2 separate regions of the Homo sapiens genome follow, and region 2 is linked to region 1. The links are contacts of gene promoters, found by promoter capture Hi-C in human tissues and cell types (Jung and others, 2019). All regions are on one chromosome and are shown on one strand. The core of a region is centred on a gene start or on the middle of the fragment in contact, and the rest is flanking DNA. Distances in the headings are between cores, read along the strand shown. Region 1 holds the start of KLHDC7A (kelch domain containing 7A). Region 2 has its middle 100 kb from the start of LINC01654.

Region 1 (4,470 bases), core at 1,831-4,330:
ACAATGGCTGCTTCTCTTTCTTCCAATAAGGAGAAAAGTAATGTGGGCTTTGGTATATTTTCTCGCAAGCAAGAGTCTCCTAGGCTGGCCCCAGCTTCAGCTGTTCTACTTTTCAAACCACCACTCCCTCTGGCCAGGGCCCCTGGGGCTCCCTCGGCTCCTTCCTGGCCCTGCCCAAGTCACCTGCCTCCATCTTTCCCACCTGTGTGTCCCGGTGCTTCTGGGAACTGTGGAGGTGGGGCCCAGTGGCTGATGTTTAGGAAGGGGCACTGATGGCTCAGAGAGCCAACCCCTCTCCAGAGCAACTAGCGAGGGGCTGCTGGGGTCAACTGGCTCCTAGAATTGTGATTGCAAAAAGACTATGCCCCCTAAGCTTTGGTGGGGTCCCGGTGTATCCCCCCAAGAATTCAGAGTTGAAGCAAGGGCGGTCATCCCTGAAGACATGAATGCCTTCTGCCTTGGAACACCAGCTCCTGGTCCTCTTTTCTGCAGTGGGGCCTCTGCAGCCCATGAAGGGTAAGACTCATCTAAGATCCCTCTCTCCCCAGCTAGGGGAGGAGAAAGGACCGGAATTCACCTCTTGATGGCCACATTCCTGGGTTGCCTGTTTGCCTAGAAATGGCCCCCAGAGGGACGGCTGGCAGTGGAGCCCGGTGGCCCCCAGCTTTGCATGAGGAGCTCAGTTGAGGGACTGCTAGACCCTGGTCTGAGGCAAATCGGGGGTGGGCAAGGTCAGGACGGTGGGCAGGAGGGTGCCCTGCGGGGCCGGGAAACTCCGCAGCTCCTTGGGCACAAACCTGGGTGAGACAGAGTCTGCTAGGAAGCAGAGGGTGCTCCGGCGTCCCACGCAGTAGATGAGGTTGTCCACCACGGCGCACTGGAAGGCATCCGGGTAAGGCGTCCGGTACGTGGCGCACTCGTACCAGAGCCGGGTGCTGGCGCTGCAGCGGTACACGGCGATGCCCAGGCTGCGGTTGAGGTCAAAGCGGTAGAGAAAGCCGTTGACCGCCACCATCTCGGCCGTGCGGTCCTTGCTGCCCCCGGTGGGGCCGGCCCACCAGCGCTGCTCCTGCGCAGAGAAGCGGAACAGCAGGAAGCGCAGCGAGCCGCCGGTGACGAAGATTTCCTTGGCACGCACCGTGGCCGTGTGCGCCAGGGCGAACGTGTCACTGGGGAGCGGCGGGGCAAAGTCCCAGCGGTCCAGGCGGGGGTCGTAACGCTCCACCGAGTTCAGACACTCTCCGCCGATGGCATACAGGTGCCCGTCCAGGGCCACCAGCCGGCAGTGCGGCCGGGCCTGGTTCAGCGGGCACACCTCGCTCCAGATCCCCGTGAGCGGGTTGTAGCAGAAGACGCGGCTGGAGGGCTGGTGCCCGGGCCCCTGGCAGCCGGACACCACGAAGAGATAATTGAAGAGACTGCAGATGGCACAGCCCCGGGACACGGCCTCGGGGGGCATGCGAGCCAGCGGGCGCCAGACATCCTGCTCATCGTCATAGCAACAGAGGCCGCCGGAGTCTTCCTTGGGGCACACGTCAGCCACCACCAGGTACTGGCGGCCCCGGAGCCGGCGCTGCAGGATCAGCTCGCGCTCTGCCCCGCTCAGGCACCCGTAGATGTCCGGGCTGCGCAGCACCTGCAGGTAGTTTTCGCTCATCACCTTGTAGGCCGCCTCTTTCAGGGCCTCCAGGTTCTGCCTCTTGGCCAAGGTCAGCACCTCATAGCAATTGCCCAGATCCAGGCGGACCTGTGGGGCTGAAGCAGGGGTGAGCGGGATATGGAAGAAATTGGTCCCGGCCACCGGCTGCACATGGGGCTCCCGGCTGCTTCTGCCTAAGCCAGGCAGGGCGCCCGGGTCTGGGCAGGGTGGAGCGGGGAGCCGGAAGCCATCTGGCTGCAGCTGCAGCTCTGGGTTCTCCGCTATCTGCAGAAGGCTCTCCTTCCGGCTGAAGCCTCGGGTGGAGGGCCACGGCCCTGTCTGCGGGGAGGCGGCTCTTTCGGCTGCACCCTTTGTGTCACCGGCTTGGCCTCCCGAGGCAGCCCCTGTTCCCAGGGACCCTGGCGGTGGCCTAGGGGATGGAACCTCAGTCAGGGCTGCTGTCCTGGGAGCCAGCCTGCCCTGGAAGATGGCCTGAGAGGTAGATTCCACATAGTAGTCGTACACCTTGCCCTTGAGCCGGGGCTCAACCCCCTCCGCCTTCTGTATGAAATGCTCCTCCATTCGGACGCGGGCTATGGATGAGAAGGTATAGGAGGAGTTGGGGGCGCCCTCCTGCTGATGCAGGGTCAGGTCAACATCGGAGGCAGCCTCGAGAGCCCCAGCCTCTTCTCTGCTGACCCCTATCACACGGGTGAAGACCCAGCTCTGGTTCATGTCACTGCTGCCTTGCAAGGGAGCCACGTAGTGACAGTGGGGAGGTTCTAGTTGCCCCAGTCCTGGATGCTCACGGGGTTTACTGTCCTGCCATGGAGAAGGCTCACCACCGGCACAGCTGCCGTCGGCTGCTGCAATGAGTCCAGCTGGGGAGCTCTTCGGTTCGCTGCCCAAGCGGGGGAAATGGGGAGGGTCAGGGTTACTGCCAACAGCTGTTCTGGTTTCCTGGCTGGGGCAGCAAGGAGGCACCTGCTCAGAGTCCGAGCCCTGCCCGCCCCGCTCCTCACCTGAGCCTTTTCTCTGGGGCTTCCTGTCTGTGGAAGTGGCCCCCGTGACCAGGACATAGGGGCCTCTTGGATTCTCACAGCTGCAGCCCTGTGGTGCTTCAGCCCGCTTGCTGCTCCTCCGACGTCTTGGCCCCCTCAGGAGCACCCCAGGAGAAGCCTCCTGTACAGCAGGCTGCCCTGAGCCCTCTGCTTCCTCCTTGGCTTCTGCCTGGCCATTCCCACCCCACCGCTGGGCTGGGGCAGGCCTCGACTTGTACAGCCTGTAGGCCACAGTCACCAGGAGCAGGGCAGCGGCTGACAGCACCACCTTGCCGGTCAGCTGCATATCCAAATGCCAGTCCTGGGCCTCTGCTCCTCTGGGGAACATGCTTCTCCAGCCAACCTGGGGCTGAGGAATGTCAAGAATCTGATTAATAATTGCCCAGTAGGGACCAGTTCCTGGGTCCTGCTGAGCGGAGGGGAGGGAGTTCTGGGCTGGTTCTGGCTGGCCAGCCGAGGAGAGGAGAGGAGCAAAGGTGACTTTGAGCTGCAGAGGGTGGCCGCTGGGGCCCAGAGCTGGCAGATCCCAGCGGCTGGCCTCCTTCCATGCTTCCCTGGTGGCTGGGGTGGGGGGCCCGCCCAGGGGCTGAGCTTGTGATCAGCCACCTAAGCCAGCTCTGTGGTCAGCAGCTAGGGGATGTTAGGAGTATCCAGTGGGCATACAAAAGAGGAGGAAGCTCTTAACCAAACAGTCACCCGATGCCAGGAAATGCATGGGGTTGGTTATTCTTTATGTGTGTGCTTTATTTTCTCTTTTGCAAGTCCACTGGGCTCAGAGGCTTGGGTGTGGTGAGTCATGGGCAGGTGGAGCCCCAGTAGGCGTGGATGGGGTCATTCTTGTGAGGTCTGCTGGTCCTCACAGTGGGGTCAACTTTATGCTGGCCAAGCAGGGAACGGGAACATGGCAGTGGAGTCTGGAGCCAGGGCATGCAGCCAAGCCACCTGAGCCGGCCCTTGAGTGCCTCTGCCCTCCTTCCCTGCCTGACAAGTTTATTAAGAAAAACCAGCCTTTCTGAGAACAGTGGAGAAAGACATTGCATTAGTGCTCAGATCGGGGTTAGATGTGGACACATCTTCTCTTTTAAAACCAGACAATCTCCTACGGTGAAAGATTGAGGGAAGACTCACGTCTCCCAGACCCCCCCTCACCATTTCCCCTCCCCCATCACCAGTGCTGTGGGTCCTGGACCCAGACTACCTGGCTCTGCTACTTACCAACTATATGACCTTAGGCAAGAGACCTCACCGCTCTGTGCTTTGTCTGAAAAAGGAGGATGACAGCATACGCACCTCATCAGCTTGTGGGGAGAACTAAATGGGCTACTAGGAATAAACACTGGGGCAGAGCCCCCATCATGAAAGCTTAGTAAATATGAACTATTCTCTGCTTCTTCCTCCTTTTCCTCTTTCTGATCATCGGCACCATCATCGCTAGTATCAATTGTCATCAGAGGACCTTCCAAAGCACAGAACTAATTCTACCCTTCTCCTGACCAAGGTCCTCAAAGAGTCCCCAAAGTCCTGTGCAGGGGTCTCAAACTCTTGCTGCATATGGAGGCTGGGTAGGTAAAGTGAACAAGTAAGGACGTCTGTCCGCCCCACCCCAGCCGATGGTATCAGGCCCAGCATTGCCTCATCCTCCCACTGTCGCAAAAAGCTTAGAATCCCAGTAGTGACATAATCACTCTCAATTTTAAAATGTTGGCATCTGATTCAAAAATGAAACTGAAAAACACTGTGGGCCACAGGAAGCACACGCATGGGAGGAAT
Region 2 (4,933 bases), core at 2,298-4,797, 520 kb after region 1:
GGTGGGGTGAGGAGTCGAGGTCCACATGTCAATTTACTGCAGCCACCTTTTCAGTGGGAAGCTTTACACAAGAGAACTAAACTGTGCCTCAGTGTCCTCATCCAGGAAGTAGGACTAATCATAGCCACCTGCCAAAGTTGTCATGAGAATGAAATGGCATTCAGAGATGATATCTCCTGCTTCTCTACCAACTTAACCTGTGACATGCTGCCCAGTAACCCCCAACTCAGATGTAGGATCTGAGCAGCTGGTTGAACACATAGCTACTATCCCATGACAGCATGTGATGGGGAAGCCTGGGTTCTGAAGGTGCATGTGTGTGCACGTGTGCAAGGGCAGATGTGGGAAGCATTCTTTCTGACAGGCGGATGCCACACATACTGCGTTAGGCTGCCTCTCGGAGGCTGAAGTCTCTTTCAGGGCCCAGCTCCCAGATTCTGCCCGCTGCAGAAATCATCGCGTTATAATTACAAGTTAATTAAAGCAGAGGAGATCAAAGCCACTTTAGACAGATTAATGATACAGCGAGTGCCAGAAATTTCACCATTTTATGTATTAACCACATTGTCGTTTTTATTCCACATTTTTCCCCTCTTTTGTGTCAGCCGAAAAGCCTTTCATATCTTTTCTCTGCCCCCATCAATGCATGAGGAATTTGAAGTCCTAACAGCTGTGAGGAGCTGTCTGTGGAGAAGGAGTCCATTCAAAGGATATCAGAAAAACCAATGAGCCTTTTAGCTTCTGATTAAAATGAAGCTGCCACCGCCTAACCCTCCCCTACCTTAAAAAAAAAAAGACCTAAAAAACATCAGTCATTAAAATCAAGCCAAAGAAATGGGAGGAATTGAAAGCTGGATTTCCCAGCTTTCTACAAGGAATTTTTGCATTCAGTTTCGCCACCTGGCTGGGCATGATAGTCGAGCCATCAAAGCTTAGCCTGGAGGTGAAGTGTGATTCAGATAACCCAGGCAGGAAAGTAAATAAAGAGAGCATGCACTCACCAGGTGTTTACTGAATGTCCACTCTGTGCCAGGCTTTGGGTTAGTGCATCGATACGTTGGAGAACAAGGCAGAGGCTGTCTCTGCCACCATGGTGCTTACAGTCTAGCTGGTGACAAGAGAATTAAACTGTGTCTCATGTCCTGGCTGGCTGAGAGACATTGCTAAGGCATTTCCTTTGTCTGGGTACCAGAGTTCTTACTGTTATTGTTCGACACATACTGATCAAGCCGGGGATGTTTCCCAATTCCAAGCTAAGGGTTGAGGTCGAGGTACACAAGGGTCTTCTTGGTTGGGAGCTTATGGACACATTGAGGAGACAGAGGAAAACAGCAAAAGAATGTCCCGGAGTACATGATTAATTGGCAATGAACACGTGTATTGTTAAGATGATGTGTAGTAGAACCACCACCACCCTCCAATCTCAAGTGGCTTAAAGTAAAAGTCTATTTCTCTCCTGCCTAAAAGTCCATCTGTGGGTGAGGAAGGGAGTTCTCTGGGACGCAGGCTGATGGAAGCACCTTCATCTTCAACGTATGTTCCCAAAGTCACATCCAACTGATAGACAGAGGAAAACAGGAAGTACAGAAACTGCATAGGACATGCTTGTAGGCCAGGACTGGAAGTGATGCACATCACCTTTGCTCACAATCTCAGCAAAGGTGAACTCAGAACCTGCCAAGCTGCAAAGGGGGCTTGAAAAGGTAGCCTCTGGCTGGGTGACCGCTTTCCAACAACTACACTACCTATGGAAGGGAAGCAGAGTCTTGGTTGAATAGTCAACCTCTCTGCCAATATGAGTAATCACAACAACGCATGATGGATGCTTAAGAGGAGAAGCTCAGGGTCCTGTGAGTGCACACAGCAGGGGACCTGTTTTGAGGATGTGTTCTCATGTAAGAAACCACCCTCACAACTCAGTGGATTAAAATATAAATTTATGATGATCTCCCACAGTTCTACAGGTTAACTGGGAGTTCAATATGTTTCTTTACTCGCATGTATAACACCGCCGCTGGGATGGCCAGATCAGCTGATGCTAGCCAGGTGTCTCTCTCTCTTTCTCCCAACCTGGCCAAAATGACCTTCTTCCTAGCATGGCGGACTTGGGGCAGTGAGACTCGTTACATGGCAGCTGGCTTCCCCTGTGTAAGCATTCTCAGAAACCCAGACAGATGTTGTAAAGCTTCTTATGACCTGGCCACGGAGGTCCCAGGGCATCACTGCCACAGCATTCCACTGGTTGAGCAAGTGACCAGGGCCAGCCCATATTCAAAGGGCGAGGAATCGGCTCCACCTATAAATGGGAGAAGCAGTGTGAGAGCAGCTCTCTGTGGGGGCCAGAGAGCACAGGGCCAACCTCATCTTGGTGATCATGGAAGTCTACCTGGAGGGGGTGGCATGAACCCACTTGTGTAAGGTGGGGAAGATCATAGTCAAGCTCCTCAAAGATTTGGGTGAGCTCAATGGGAAAGAGAAGCATGGAGAAATCCATTGTGGGTGGTGCCTGAGAGCAAAGGGCACTGAGGGGGAACTGAGACTGGAGAGACTGGCAGGGAACCCATGGAGGGTTTGCAAGCCACAGCAAGGAGCCTGGATCTCAACTGAGGGCAGTGGGAAGAATGGAAGAGTTTGAGGCCAGGAGGTGATCTGGACACATCAGCACCATAGGAAGGTCCCTTTAGCTCCTGAGCAGGGAACAGATTGGAGAGAAGCCAGTCTGGAGGCAAGAACAGTTTTAGAGAAGTTGCAGGAGTTGCATCCTTCAGGGTGTCCGCTGCTTCCTTATCTCATTATCTTCTCTTAGGAGGGAATACGTAGGACAGAAGAGATCAGTCATTCACATTTTACAGATGAGGAGGCTGAGATCTGGACAGGGAAGGAGATTCACCTGGTGTCACCATGAGCCGGTTCTACAGAAGCAGCCACCAAATATTCCCTTACACAGGCAACTGCATCTATGATCCTCATGATAGGTATCCTTTTCTATAAGGCCAACATCAGAACTCTGCCCTTTTGACTCCCGGGCAAGGGACTTTCCCCTTGAAGGTCCTCTGTAAGATGATAAAACCCAGCCTGGAGTGAGACTGTGAGGAGGCAACAATGGTAAATAGGCGAGGATGCAAGCTTGGTGCCGGCGTGGTTCAGTCTGGTAGAAAGGGTGCAGACTGTGGGTCCAGAAAACAGGTATTTGAGTTAAGCACTGCTACTGGCTGGCTGAGGGACATCTGTAAGGGATTCACTTTTTCTGGGTACCAGAGTCCTTACTGTTATTGTTCCACAGATACTGATCAAGCCTGGGATGTTTCTCAATTCCAAGCTGGGGGTTGAAGTCAAGGCACACAAGGGTCTTCTTGGCTGGGAGCTTATGGACACATTGGGGAGACAGGGGAAAACAGCAAAAGAATGCCCCAGAGTAGGTGATTAATTGTCAAATGACCATGGACAAGATATAGGAATTCAGAAGGAGAGACTCCTGGGGATGAGGGTGGTCATGGAGAGCTTCCAGGAAGAGGTGAGATTTGACTGAGGCCTAGAAGGATGGGTAGTATCTGAACAGAAAAGGAAAGAGGAGAGGGCACAAATGGGGAGCATGGAGTGAGCATTCATTCCCCAAATGCTTATTGTGGGCTCACATATTAGCAGCACTGCGCTGACCTGTGTGTGCAGAAGGAATGTGGGTCACACAGGCTCGAGAATGTTTAAGGCGTGGGCGTAGGGTGATGAGGAAAGAGGTCTGGCTAAATCAGAGATTTCTGATCCAGTGTGAAGTGATGAAACCTGAGGACCACATTCCCAAGCCCTTGAATTGCCACACCAAGGAGTCTCATTCTTGTTCAACAGTCAATGGAAGCCATGGTAGAACACTGAGGAAGGCGTGGCATCTGGAAAAAGTGTTGCCGATAATGTCACTTATTCTACAGGTAATGTTAGACGAACCACCAGCAGCAGCCCCAAAGCCTCACAGGAACATAACCTCTGCCTATTTAACATAATTGTGAGAAGTTGGTAACATCAAGAGCCTTCATTCGTAAATATCTGTGCCAGACTCTGCTCCAGGCACTAGGGAAATAAAGGTTAATAAGGCACTACAGAGCAATTTGAAAACTGCCGTGCCCTGTACAAAAGAAAGAGATGTGTTTAGGATTCTTTGGTCTTGGTCTCATCTCTGACCCTCACTGGATCTTGGGCCATGGCCAAATGTCTCAGCTACCCTGAGCCTCAATTCTTTAATCTATCACATGAGAGAGGGAAACTCTGTGTTCTCAAAGGCTTCTTCTAGCTCTTTATGTTCTGTGAGTCTTCCTCAGATAATAGGAAGACTTCTATTGTGTTGGTGCAAAAGTAATTGCATTTTTTGCCATTAAAAATAATTGTGCAATTATTTCTTTGCACATATTATTATTTCTTTGCACAAAAATAAATGGTGTGATTATTTCTGTGCACTAACCTAATAGAAAATGAATCTGGCTGCATTATCCAGCCTAAGTTGAAAGAATGACATGTAACAGACAAGGAGACTAGGCAGAAGATCATCTCATGGTTGTCTTTTTGTGCATTTTGCAGTTTTCCACTCACATCATCCCCCATCCTCCATCACCTGAGAAATGGGGGCCCGAGGAGTCGATGCCTTTGGTTTTGATCGGTCACCTTAACGCATTCACCTCAATTCATTCACCTCCCTAGGCCTGTTTCTACAAGCTGAGTCTGAAAGAGCTTTTCACACTTGGGAAAATATTGGTGATGAGAGAAGCCAGAGGATCTACACAGGAATATGAAGACATTTGTGAAGTACAATTTCCTTCCTCTTGAGTGAGAGCGGCTAGAACAAGTCAGCATCCTGGTCAGTTCCTGTTCCATTCCTTACTATGGGCTTAGCCAGTTTAGTACTCCTGGGATCATCAGCTGAGTGATGGGAGAAGGAGCGCTCTTT

The links. Contacts are between HindIII fragments. The study calls those that stand out against the background at their distance.
Region 2: a fragment that was not itself captured here is called in contact with the fragment with the promoter of KLHDC7A in region 1 in 1 of the 25 tissues and cell types used here (dorsolateral prefrontal cortex).

What each region holds. Positions count from the first base shown.
Region 1 is chr1:18,479,540-18,484,009 of GRCh38, reverse strand. It overlaps KLHDC7A (kelch domain containing 7A), which reads right to left and starts at 3,080. Exons shown (of 1, transcript NM_152375.3): 1 at 1-3,080. The coding sequence starts at 3,028. The coding sequence ends at 695. RefSeq lists enhancers at 2,258-3,129, 3,130-4,002. The HindIII fragment of the contact is 16,937 bases long and covers 1-4,470 here.
Region 2 is chr1:17,959,266-17,964,198 of GRCh38, reverse strand. No RefSeq gene overlaps it. Among named protein-coding and RNA genes, the nearest start is that of LINC01654, 100 kb to the left of the region's middle. The HindIII fragment of the contact is 3,977 bases long and covers 1,559-4,933 here.